2 separate regions of the Homo sapiens genome follow, and region 2 is linked to region 1. The links are contacts of gene promoters, found by promoter capture Hi-C in blood cells and fetal thymus (Javierre and others, 2016). All regions are on one chromosome and are shown on one strand. Each heading gives the region's core, a stretch centred on a gene start or on the middle of the fragment in contact. The rest is flanking DNA. Distances are from core to core; before and after follow the strand shown. Region 1 holds the start of LOC124902939 (a long non-coding RNA gene). Region 2 holds the start of HOXC11 (homeobox C11).

What was found. Contacts are between HindIII fragments. The CHiCAGO score rates a contact against its expected background, and 5 or more counts as called.
Region 2: a contact is called between the fragment with the promoter of HOXC11 here and a fragment that was not itself captured in region 1, in 1 of 17 cell types (total B cells). The highest score is 5.9, in total B cells.

The regions. Positions count from the first base shown.
Region 1 is chr12:54,013,439-54,019,925 of GRCh38, forward strand. It overlaps LOC124902939 (a long non-coding RNA gene), which reads right to left and starts at 4,309. Exons shown (of 2, transcript XR_007063323.1): 1 at 3,366-4,309; 2 at 2,575-2,915. It also overlaps a transcript of HOXC4 not described here, a transcript of HOXC5 not described here and a transcript of HOXC6 not described here. RefSeq lists silencers at 4,465-4,634, 4,705-4,974 and enhancers at 5,015-5,084, 5,016-6,487. The HindIII fragment of the contact is 3,080 bases long and covers 1-3,016 here.
Region 2 is chr12:53,971,639-53,977,431 of GRCh38, forward strand. It overlaps HOXC11 (homeobox C11), which reads left to right and starts at 1,488. Exons shown (of 2, transcript NM_014212.4): 1 at 1,488-2,285; 2 at 3,543-5,793. The coding sequence starts at 1,604. The coding sequence ends at 3,775. It overlaps HOTAIR (HOX transcript antisense RNA), which reads right to left and starts at 3,316. Exons shown (of 7, transcript NR_186241.1): 1 at 3,260-3,316. RefSeq lists enhancers at 2,714-3,308, 3,639-3,788. The HindIII fragment of the contact is 12,279 bases long and covers 1-5,793 here.

The DNA of each region.
Region 1 (6,487 bases), core at 227-2,726:
GAGCCCACATCCTGAAATTCACATTCAATCCTCTGCACAGGAAGATTGTCATCACTGTCATTCAGCCCGCTTGCATCCACTCCAACTTCTGTTCAGACGGTTTAAAGTCCACTCCCCACTTCACCTTGGCAATTGGTCAGCTTACCCAGCCCCCATAGTGTGGGCCATTGGCCTGGAGGATGGGCCTGCTGAGTGGACATCCTGCCACCCCAGTCACAGCGGGGTAAGAGGGCGTCTTTATTGGTATCTTCATTCCCCAAAATGAAGAATTGAAGGCTCAGGGACCCAGGGGGTAGAAGGGTCTCTCACTTCTCTCTGGAGAGTCCTGGACTTAAAAATTCTGTTTATGCCAATAAGATTCTGGTCAAATAATCCCAAATTCCAGAGATACAAGTCTTCTGACTCAGTCAGGAGAGGGGAAAAGGGAGGGGAGGGATCTTCTGGTCTTAAAAACCAGACCCCCGAAGGCTGAAATATTTTTGAGGCCAGATTTTCTTTCTTTCTTTTTCTCTTCTCTTCTCTTCTCTTCTCTTCTCTTCTCTTCTCTTCTCTTCTCTTCTCTTCTTTCTCTCTCTCTCTCTCTCTCTCTCTCTCTCTCTCTCTCTCTCTCTCTCTCTGTCCTCCCCACCCCTCATCTGTCTAGCTCCTGGTCAATGATTTTCCCAGACCTAGGCCCAGGCCAACTCTTGTTTTGTGGAATTTCACCCAGGTCCCAGTCACTGGTCCCCACGCAAACCGGGCCTGAAAATCGGGCCTGAGTAGAGAATTGAGTCGGGCTTCCTTCACAGGGGGACTCCTGCAGTCCGAGAAAGGCTGTGAATTGGAAGCACAGGCTGCAGGCAGCTGGGGCAGCTTTGAGCAGGAGCTCCGGGAAATCTTCTCTAACCTGGGGTCCCTGCTGTGAGCAGCGGCACCAGCCAGGTAACCTGTTCTCAGTGGGAGACACCGGCTACCCACCAGGGAAGCCAGAAAAGAGGCCATTTCGCTCAGACCTCAGGCCTTCCCACAGGCGTGTCCTCCATACTCCGAGGGATGGCTGAGGTCCCGTTTCGTTTTTAAACGTGGAATTATGATTGCTATTAATAAAAATATCTGGCCCAGTAGCCTAGCGGAATGAACCCAGCATTAAATGGCTCCGAAGGGCCTCGCCGCCTTTTCCCCACACCAAATGTGCCATTTATCCCTTGTCCTGTTCAGCAATGTCCGTGGCCCCAAGCCCGGCGCGTCGGAGGGCGGGGTGCGTCTGGCGCCCGGCTTTACTCGAGATGCCAGGCATGGAGAGGGCTAAGCCGAGGGAGCCCCAGCCACCCCCTCATGCAGTACCCGCTCCCCCACCCCTCCTGCCCACCGCCTCTGTTTTCTCGTTTGGAAAGAAATGGAGGTAAAAACCCGTTTTATGGGGGAACGTAATTGTGAGCGGGATGCGCTCTCTTTAGAATCGCGTCCTCCCAAATGCTCCCGCCGTCCCATTACCGGAATGGGGACCATTCGGCTGCTGCAGATAGGACTTTCTCTCCCATTCTTTACTTTTTTATTAGCCAATCAAAGTGGCTTCCGAAAGCCATTTGTGATTTGTGAAAAATAGTATCTTTCAAAATGCTGAGTTGAAGCATCTCGCTCATTGCTCCTTGAATTTATTATTCTAATCTCAACCGTAGAGCTGGAATAATGCAGCTATTAAGTTGGGGGGCAAATTCGTTTCTCTGGATTAAATTTTTTTTCCTCCCCACTCCCTCATTGCATCAGCCAAGGAAGGTGCGGACCTGCAAGAGATCTGGGGGTGGGTGAGAGAGGTAGTGAGCGTCCTGAAGGGCTCCTTGAGGGACCCTTGGATAGGCGAGTGGTTTGGTCTCCCCAGTCTTATCTTCCCCAGATAAGATGCCCTAATGACTGCCTGCTGGCTGGGAAAGTTACCCCGCCCAATTAGGGAGAATTCAGGACAGGTTGTGCCACAGTCTAGAAGTAAAATTTCCGGTGAGCTGCCCGCAGCGCCGTCCCATTCTCCCCGCTGCCCATTGTGAAAAGCTGGGCCAGCGCTTCCTTGTCGTAATTTTTAACTACCTGTTATAAAATTTATGGGTGGGTTTGTGAAAAGAAACGAGGTCCCTGCATCCGGCCTAGGGAACTGCTTTTCTTACTATGGAGGAAGTCTGGGGAAGGCATGAGGTATCCCCTCTTGGTCAGGGTTGAGGCACCCAACCATTGAGATTCCCATGCCAGCTTGATGCGGGACCAAGTGGAGAGATGCCGGCCTTCAAATCTCGAGCCCGTGGGGAGAGTGACCTGCCTGCAACCCCTCCCCCGGCAAATAGTCTCTATGGGGGAATTTATTCTGGACTCACCTTCAAAATTAGGGGTCTGGAAAAACAGGCTGCTCGAAATTTTAGCACAGAAGGTGGAATTCAGGGCAGTAAAAGGTTATTTTTTCAGGCCTCGGTAGTACATCCCAGCTGCCCAGACATTGAATCAGGAAATTTTTCTGAGAAAGGCAGGTGGGTATGGGCAATCTGACACGATCCAAAAGGCTTACTGCCTTGCACCCCTCCCCGCAAAAAGGAAGTAGAGACCAAGATCTTGGGCTTTAATTTTATTTTTAATTGTAAAAAGATTTCAAATAAGCCACCATTTGAACTGGGAAGGGAAACTAGGGATGGTCTTGGGGGAAAATGTCATTCTCTCTAAGAAAGGGACCCCGGGGATGTGGGTCGTTTTGAGGGTCCTAGAAGTTGACCCCAATTCTCACCTCTCCTGCTGCACTGCAGGATTGCCCAGGGTAGGTCTAGTCCCCTAGGTTCTTCAGACCACTCCAGGTCAGGTTTGGTTGGGTGGCTGCCAGTGGTCTTCCACTACTGTTCCTGTCTAGGGTGGAGTAGGAGCTTTCAGGGGTACGGCATAGAGGGGATGTTGTTCTCTTACTAAAAAAAAAAAAAAAAAAAAAAGGTAGGGGTAGGGAGGCACCCTTTCAATCCCTGCAATTCACCAGCCATCACTGCCTCAAGGCCACAAATCTTTGCAAAGCTTTGAATTCCGCCTGATCCAACCTTAATGCCCCCATTTATTAAGGACAATATTTAAAACTCGGCAAGCCAGGAGAGGCAACCGACCCTCAGTGCTTGAAGCTTTCTTTCGCCTGGGCGTCCGCCCTCAGCTCTTTCTGCGCTCGCCTGCAGCAGCCTGGCCCGTGGGGAGTGGGCGGTGGGTGGGGGTAGGGGTGGGGTGGGGGTCCGGGGATGCTCCCTCTATGAGAGAATTGGGTAAACATGGCGACCGCGGCGCCCATTTGCACACGCTACACAAATGCATCGCATTCCCGGTTGTTTGCAGAAAATTTACAGCTGAGTAATAAAAGTTTACGATCGACTCACAAGTTGGATTGGCCACAAGAAGTCATGTGGATTCCATCCATGAACGTGAACTTTTTATTGTGGTTTGTCCGTTCCGAGCGCTCCGCAGAACAGTCCTCCCTGTAAGAGCCTAACCATTGCCAGGGAAACCTGCCCTGGGCGCTCCCTTCATTAGCAGTATTTTTTTTAAATTAATCTGATTAATAATTATTTTTCCCCCATTTAATTTTTTTTCCTCCCAGGTGGAGTTGCCGAAGCTGGGGGCAGCTGGGGAGGGTGGGGATGGGAGGGGAGAGACAGAAGTTGAGGGCATCTCTCTCTTCCTTCCCGACCCTCTGGCCCCCAAGGGGCAGGAGGAATGCAGGAGCAGGAGTTGAGCTTGGGAGCTGCAGATGCCTCCGCCCCTCCTCTCTCCCAGGCTCTTCCTCCTGCCCCCTTCTTGCAACTCTCCTTAATTTTGTTTGGCTTTTGGATGATTATAATTATTTTTATTTTTGAATTTATATAAAGTATATGTGTGTGTGTGTGGAGCTGAGACAGGCTCGGCAGCGGCACAGAATGAGGGAAGACGAGAAAGAGAGTGGGAGAGAGAGAGGCAGAGAGGGAGAGAGGGAGAGTGACAGCAGCGCTCGGTAAGTGTTTCCTTATTGGTTCAAATATGTAACTAATGGTCCGTGGCGGTTTCAAGAATAGGACAGCAGCGGCTTCTCTTGGTTAGGGAGAAGAGGGGGCTGGCGAGAGGGTGGGCGCGTAGTTAATTATGGGGAGGAAAATTGGCGGGGGGAGAGAAACGGGGTTAAACTGGAATACCGGTAACTGGTAGTGGGGCGATTGTGTTGTCCTGATGTCACTGTGTGCCAAGTTGGGGGTGGGGAGGCAAGGGAACAGCACCTGTGGGGCTCAAGCCGGCGGTCTAGGGCGCCAGCTCTCTGCTGCCCACTGTGTCAGTACCTGCTTATTATAGATCTTCGGTCTCTTGGCTAATGGAACTGGGTCGGAGCGGAACTGGAAGCTCAAGCTCCAGGCAGGAGAGAGAACTTAGAGGCTGTGCCCATTGCCCCCTAAGCAAAGTTAGCCCCCCAACCCCCAAACAAACTTTCCAGCTTCCCCTCCCTGTCTGGCAGCCCCCTCCCTCCCAGAGAGCGCGACTGCTAGAGCTCACACATGCGCAGTGTGGGCCCAGGGCCGGGCCGCCGAGCAGGAAGCCGGCGCAGCTAGGCGGCCGGCGGGGCCTGTTAATTGGCAATTAGGGGGGAGGCTGGTGGCTGGTGCGCGTCAGCCGAGAGGAGAGCGTCTGCCCACCCCCTGCTCCCGCCCCCACTCGGGCGGATGGAAGGGTGGGAGGTGCCCTGCGTTGGGTGGAGGGTGGAGGTTGTAGGGTGGGGGTGGGGGATGCTGTACTCAAAAGCCATCTTGTGCTCAGAGAAAAGAGGCCTACCGGCTTTCCCTTCCGGGGTCCGGCGCCCCTCACCCCCAGCCGCGGCCATCCCAGCCGGGATGCCCACTGGACCGGGATGCCCGCTCGCCACGCATGGCTGCTCTGGGCTAGGACCTGCCTCGCCTCGGGGGGAGGTGGAAATGGGGAAGGCCCTAGGCTGGGCGGGGACAGGCCCAGTCCTCCTGGTAGAGTCTCCTAGGTGCTGTGGAGGCAGTGAGGATTCCGGGGGCTGCTGGCTTATGGGGTAGAGGCGTCAGCCTGGGGCGGCGGGAGGGTCCTGGGCACTCGGGATCTCTCTAATAATTGGTGCTAATGGCCTGTTGTATAGTCTTAACCCGACGCATATGGTTTCATAACACAGTGGCTTAATTTCTTCCAAATGTACGTGGCCCTGAATGTGTTGCAGTTTGATATATGACCCCGCCCTGCTCCCCGGCCTGGGTCCGAGGCTCCGAGGCGGCCCCATAAGTGTGAATTTCTGTTTATAAACGGCGACGCACACGCAAACGCCTACACACCCAGGCAGACACACCCGGAGGCGTGGGGGAACATATTCCAGACGAGGTCCGAGAGAACCTGGGGGCCAGACTTACCTTAATCTAAGCCAAGACACCCCCTCTACCCCCACCCTCTCCCAGAGGCGCGACTGGGATTCTGCGCCAAGTCCCAGTGGGGGAGGGGATCGCTCCACGATTTCCTGTTTAAACCCTGACCCGTCGCCTGTGGGGGGGCGGGGATGGGGGAAGAAACCTGTTTTTATCAAATTTTTAAAAATACAGTTTGCATTCAGATCAAACCGTTTGGGCCAGAGCTGACGGTGAATTTTATCTCCCCTCCCCCCACAACCCCCTTCCCTTCCTTTTCTGCCCCCGCTAAATTCCCCTTTCGCAGCCATCATAAAGGCCTCTGAGGTATTCTCCCGCGGGAAGAAATGGCATTTTCTCTCCCCCTCCCCCACCCCCCCACCCCCAGTAGGACTTGTGTGTCGGCAGAGGCGTCTGACGAGGGGCTAATTTCGCTTTCCTTGTTTACGATCGAGAAAAGCGCTTGGCTCTCCCCAAATGGGCCCAGCCCGCCGCCTGCTCAGGCTGCCGCGCGCTCTCCCGCCGCTCAGGCACGGCCCAGTGGCTGATGCCCCGCGGATCCAGCCTGCGGCAGGCCGGAACCCGGAGTCTGTGGGACCTGAAAAGGGCAAAGGGAGTGCGGTGGGACACAAGAGGGGCCCGAGAGGCCCGAAAAAGGGAGCCTTTCTCCTGGAGTAATGTGGGAATCGCCGACCGGTGAGGCCTCTATTTCTCTCTTTCGCCTGCATTTTGTCCGCCCCCGCCCCTGTGGATGGCCGCTGATGGGGGGGAACACAAGTGTCCTTTGTCCGTCCCCGAAAGAAAACCTTTTCCAGAGAAGGCCATTCAGGCCAGTGGAGATTCACCTAGAATATTAGAAGGGCCCCCTCCCACCCGAGGGGCGGGCCTGGGCGAGGCTGAGGTATTTCTCTTAATCCTAGAACGACCTCACTGAGTGTACCCACAGCGAGATTTGGAGGTGCTAGAGTTCGAGGTTGGCCGCTTAACAGCACCATCCTGAGGTGTCTTTATATAATATTTTAATTGATTTTCTGTCCCTTCCTGGCTACAGCCCTGCAGCTCCCCCACCCCCATCCTATGCCCTTCACCCCTAGACCCATCCTTACAAGACAGAGGCAAGC
Region 2 (5,793 bases), core at 238-2,737, 42 kb before region 1:
GCCCTTGGGGGCTTCGGTTCTTCCCCTCCTTCCCAAACAAATTGTGCCCTGGCAGCTCCTCTTTGGATCCAAGGTTGCTTTCAGCTCATGCTGGTTGCTTTTGGCCCCTTGGACCCAGTCCAGAACCTTTCAATAAAGTGATTTTCAGATGCCCACATGTGTCCTGTGGTGCTCAGAGGGATGGAAGGCAAGGGGTTGGGGATGCAGAATGACTGAGCCTACTTCTTGGGCTACAGCTATCCAGGAGGCTGACAGACTTGTAGGAGGGCAGGACAGGGCTGAGAAATAGGAAGGAGGCACTAAGATCTGGTCACAGCCCCAGGGACAGAGGCTGGGGGCTTTGACTAGGGAGTGGCCGCTGGGCCTCCCCTGATGCCACAGCATCCACCGCTCCTTTCCACTGTCTGGTTAGTCTCTTCTGGAGACCCATACCTGGCCCCACCACCCACCTTACAGTCCTCAAAATCATCCAAGGATAAGAACCCCAAACCTAGTCCCCCCCACCATATTCTTCCTGGACCCCTACACTAGGCTTCTTTTCAGCGCACTAGCTGAGGCTGAGCCACTAAGCCAAAGGGCCCTGACATAGAAGATACATGGCTCTCATTCCAATCCTTTTCTTTGGGGTTTGGGATTTGAAAATCCACAGTGGATGTAGCTTTCTTCACATTGATTGACAATAAAGGCAGGCATGAAATATTCACCCAGGGCCACTCTCTCATACTAAATATTTAACACAACATTAGAGAAGGTTTTTCCCAGACTTCGCCAGGCACCGGCTGGGCGGCTGGCGCACTGCTCACCACTCGTTTATGACTAATCTGACTCCCTAGCCAGGGGCAGCACAGCAAGCCAGACAAAGTTGGGACACTGGCTTGCAGCTGGGCTGCCTCACCTTTGGGAAACTTCAGATACTCTTCCGGGAGTCTCTCTAAGGACTCCAGAAAGGTAGTCTTGACACCCAGCTCTGGCCAGGAAAAGAGTGGACTTCTTCAAACTCTTGTGAACAGGCGGTGTCTCTGCGGGTTGGAAGGGTAAGAGTCCCTGAGATTTAAGGGAAAGGATTCACTTCTCTGGGGAAATCAGGCAGTGGGGAAAGAAGTCCTCACTCCCACCCTCCTGGTGCTGCTCACAGAGAGGAGGCAAGACCCCCATACATGAGAGCCCTCCTCCTTCCCCCAATCCTGGGGGAAAAAAGAGCAGCAGCTAGAAAAAAATACAATTACCCCTTCCCAGCCACCACCCTCGCCCATCCCACCGCCCACCCCACCCCAACCCTCTCTCTCCTCCTTTGCTCGTGCTGTGGTATGGAGAGAAGGGGAGTGACGAGAGAAAAACGAATACAAATCTGCAATTGATTTTCATAATGTTTCTGCGGTGTTTGCAAACCAATCGCCTGAACGTCCCCGATCTTACCTAAGAGAGAACCCCTCCTACGTCTGCGAAGTGCTCCGAACTGATATATGACAATATCTACTTTGGATCACGTGCTCAGAGAGAGAGAGACTAAGACGGATAACGCGTCATCTCGCCTTCCCAAATTTTCCCCCCTCGCTAGACCGGGTCCAAAACCTCCATCCGGAGCCGGCAGGAGAGGAGAACGATGTTTAACTCGGTCAACCTGGGCAACTTCTGCTCTCCGTCGCGCAAGGAGAGGGGCGCAGATTTCGGCGAGCGAGGGAGCTGCGCCTCCAACCTCTATCTGCCCAGTTGCACTTACTACATGCCCGAGTTCTCCACGGTCTCCTCCTTCCTGCCCCAGGCCCCCTCTCGTCAGATCTCCTATCCCTACTCGGCCCAAGTGCCCCCGGTCCGGGAGGTCTCCTACGGCCTGGAGCCATCCGGCAAGTGGCACCATCGGAACAGCTACTCCTCCTGCTATGCGGCGGCCGACGAGCTTATGCACCGGGAGTGCCTGCCTCCTTCCACCGTCACCGAGATCCTCATGAAAAACGAAGGCTCCTACGGCGGCCACCACCACCCCAGCGCCCCGCACGCAACCCCCGCCGGCTTCTACTCCTCAGTCAACAAGAACAGCGTCCTGCCTCAAGCCTTCGACCGTTTCTTCGACAACGCCTACTGCGGTGGCGGCGACCCGCCCGCCGAGCCCCCCTGCTCCGGCAAGGGCGAGGCCAAGGGGGAGCCCGAGGCACCCCCGGCCTCGGGACTGGCGTCCCGGGCTGAGGCGGGTGCCGAGGCGGAGGCTGAGGAGGAGAACACAAATCCCAGCTCGTCCGGTTCAGCCCACTCCGTGGCCAAGGAGCCGGCCAAAGGAGCCGCCCCCAGTAGGTAGCAGCGGCCGGGGAACGGGCGGGCAGCGAGGGAGGGAGCGAGAGAGGGAGGGCGAGAGAAGGGGGGAGGCAAGGGGAGCGGGGACGGCCTCGTGTTTTGGGTCAGTCCGATTTTATGTGGAGTTTTATAAGCATTCAAAGGATTTTATTATAACCTACAAAGCCCTCTCTCCCAACGACTCGACTTTTTACGATGGAGAAGGGGTGGGGAGGGAGGGAAAAGGGCTCTTTGGAAAAGCCGGGTGAACCCCCCTCCCCCGTTATCTCCCTCGGTCTGTGAAATTTTTAAAAGCGCAACCATTGCGGGCGATATTAACTTTGATCGTGAACTTAGAGGAGCATTTAAGGAAGTATGGGGAGCCGGGCTGCCGAGGAGTGGGGAGGAGGGGAGGGGTGGAGGGGGAGAAAGGGGAGGGCGAGGGAAAGACAGGGAGAGATCCAGAGAGGGGGAGAGGTGGGGGAGAGGAGCAATGGAGCAGAACCTGAGACCGGAGAGGCAAGCCAGGACCGCTATGATCCTTCTTAAAACTAGTTTTGAAAATGTTCAAACTATGTGTTCGCGGGTCCTCGAGCAGAAACCCAAGCAACTCTGGGGTCAGCGGCGACAGGGGAATGGGGCGAGGCGGCGCAGGACTCCACTGCGTTCCAGGCGGGGGTCTGGGCGTTTCTCCCGGGTCCGCGGCCTTAGTGCTTGCCTAGAACTGCGGTGTGGAAGGCGCTGCCCCGCGGGCTTCCCGGGGCGCCAGGGCCCCGGAAGCGGCTCTCTGGTGTCTCGGTGCCTGCTGGCCGGCTTCCTCCCCGCCTCCCGACTGCTCTCGCCAGATTTCACTGCTTCGCGCCTGTTCTCAGCTTTCCCCCCAGATTTCTGGGGGAGGGGTTGGGCTTTCCGAACCACTAGGAGGGCGGCCCAGGAAGGGCCCGAGGGCGGAGGGGGAGCAGACAGGGGGCCCGAGGGGACGCACGTGTACCTGGAGGGCTTTCCTTCTGTCCCAGACCCTGTCAGCCGCGGCTCTCGCCTGAGAACTGGGGACGGGGTGGCGCAGTGGCGGGGGGGTGGGGACCCGCTAGACCTGGCAGGGGGTCGAGGCTTGCCCGGGTGCTGCGGCTGCAGGAGAGCCAGCCGCCTGGCGGGAGGGCTGCCCGCGGTGGGCTAGGAGAAGGGCCGCTGAGCGCTCAGCGGGCTGGGGTCGCCCGGGTCTCACGTGTCTCTCTCCCCCCTCTCCTCGCACTTGCCCCCTCCCCTCCCTCCAGACGCCCCCCGCACCCGCAAGAAGCGCTGCCCTTATTCGAAATTCCAGATCCGGGAACTGGAGCGAGAGTTTTTCTTCAACGTGTATATCAACAAAGAGAAGCGGCTGCAGCTGTCCCGGATGCTGAACCTGACGGACCGACAAGTGAAAATTTGGTTTCAGAACAGAAGGATGAAAGAAAAGAAACTGAGCAGAGACCGGCTGCAGTATTTCTCGGGAAATCCTCTGCTGTAACCTGCAGACCGGGCCCTTTTGGGGGCGGGGGGAGGGGAAAATTATTTTATTTTATTTTTATTTTTTATTTTCTAACTCGTCTTCTTTCCGCCGGTGGAAAACTGGACTGTGGCCAGGGCTGGCCCCCACCGCTGTGGCCGGCACTCCATTCCGGAACCTCCTGGACCCTCTATCTGACTCTCGCTGTGGGACAGGGACCGGGCCTGGAAAGGGGGTGAAGGGAAGTGTCTGATGCACGGCGAGTGAACACCGTTGGCGCCGAGGCCAAGACTTTGATTTAAAAGAAAACACACCTCGGCGACAATGTCTTGCTGCTCGGATTAGGTGGGGGAGGGGCGACAGTAGTGAGCGCCTGAGCCGAACAATCCTCGAACTAAAAGCCTTCCCTTGCCCATGTGAAAAGATCCGCTAAGACAGCATGTCTGCCAGCGGAAACTTCTCGAGCTCCCCCCTCTACCCCGCCCCACCTTGCAGCTAAATGTGATCCTGCCTTGCTGTGAAATTTCTGTACCTTCAACCTGGTGTTAGGTGTGCAAAGTCCGTGTCCTACCTCCGTCTTCGCCAAGGCCCCGCCCGAGCCTAGTTGTTCTCCCCCTGAATGTGTAGAACCTTCCTTTGAAATTTCTTAATCGGTGCATTGAGGTTTCCACATCTTTTTCCAAGCAGTGCCCCACTTCATGGATTTATAGCTATAGTCTATGCAGTCGTTACCTCTTTTTTTTTTTTTTTTAAGAAAATTGAAGATTGGGGTGGTGGAGGCAGTAGGGAGATGGGATTGGGCACCTCCCCCGTGCTGGGGCCTGGATTTTTGTAAATAAATTTCCCAAGCGTTTCTTTCCACCTGGAGGGAAAGGGGGGGACGCCCCCAGTGAGATTCAAATCACGCATCTCTACTCCTCTGCGTGAGTGCGTGTGTACATGTGCACTCCCCACCCTGCTCCCTTCCCAGAGGGATTGCTGTGAAATTTTTTTGGTGGCAAATAAAGATAAATTTCATTCTGTTCAATATTATGATTTTATTTGACCCTTTTATTAACCCCTCTCCTCTTAAAATCCTCCATGCTCCCATGGCAGCGGCGGAGGAGGAGGAGGCAGGCAGGCAGAGCCCAGCGGGTGAGGACAGGCAGGCAGAGGTGAGATAGGCCGGTGCTAGCCGGCCTGGAGCTCCTCTCCGCTGGCAGGGCCAAGAGTATGGCCGTAGTCTCCTCACATTCTCAAGCTGAGGACATTCCATAGCTACTCTGAAGCTCTCCTTTCTCACGTGCAGCTCGAGCTGTGTCCAAACGCCCAGCAACGGCTTTCTGTTTAAGTACACGTTTGTTGTGGAGTTAATTGTAACCATCATCGAATTTAAATTTATAGGAATTTTTTTGGCTCCACCGCCCTTCTGCCAGATGTCTCCGTCTGTCGCAGTTAAATGTGTAGTGTGGAGGTTAGGGCTTTTTTTTTTTTTTCTCTAGGAGAAATCTGTATTGGAATTTTTATACACTGTTTTTAAGGAAGGAGGGGACAGAAGGAGAAACCAGCCCCCTCCCTCTCCTCTCCACAGCTCCTGGGGGTGGGAAGGTGGGGCCTGGCTGCTTTCCCTCTGGCACAAATGGCCAGGCTCTTCCAGACACAACAAGACGCCTATACTGGGGCCACCCTGATGTTTATACATTGGGTGTCCCACAGTAGAAAGCCCCAGAGGTTTGTTTTGTAGGGGTTGGCACTGGGGATGGAGATGACCTGCGGGGACAGTCACCATACCCATCTATATTTGCTGCATGTTTCTTCTGTATAAAGATAATCATGGCCCTTGCAGTGCTTTCAGTGAGGGCACTTCGTTGGTCTCTGTTTCAAATTCGTTATTTGGGGGCAGAGGTTCAGGACAACTCATCTCATCTTTCCCTCCTCTTTCTGTCTTTGTATAATTCAAAGAAAATATTTTTGTCAATACAATTCTGTTGGATGAAAGGAAAAAGCATCATGACTATCAAATCTAGGTTCTGTCATTTTTGATGGTAGGAATCCCTGCA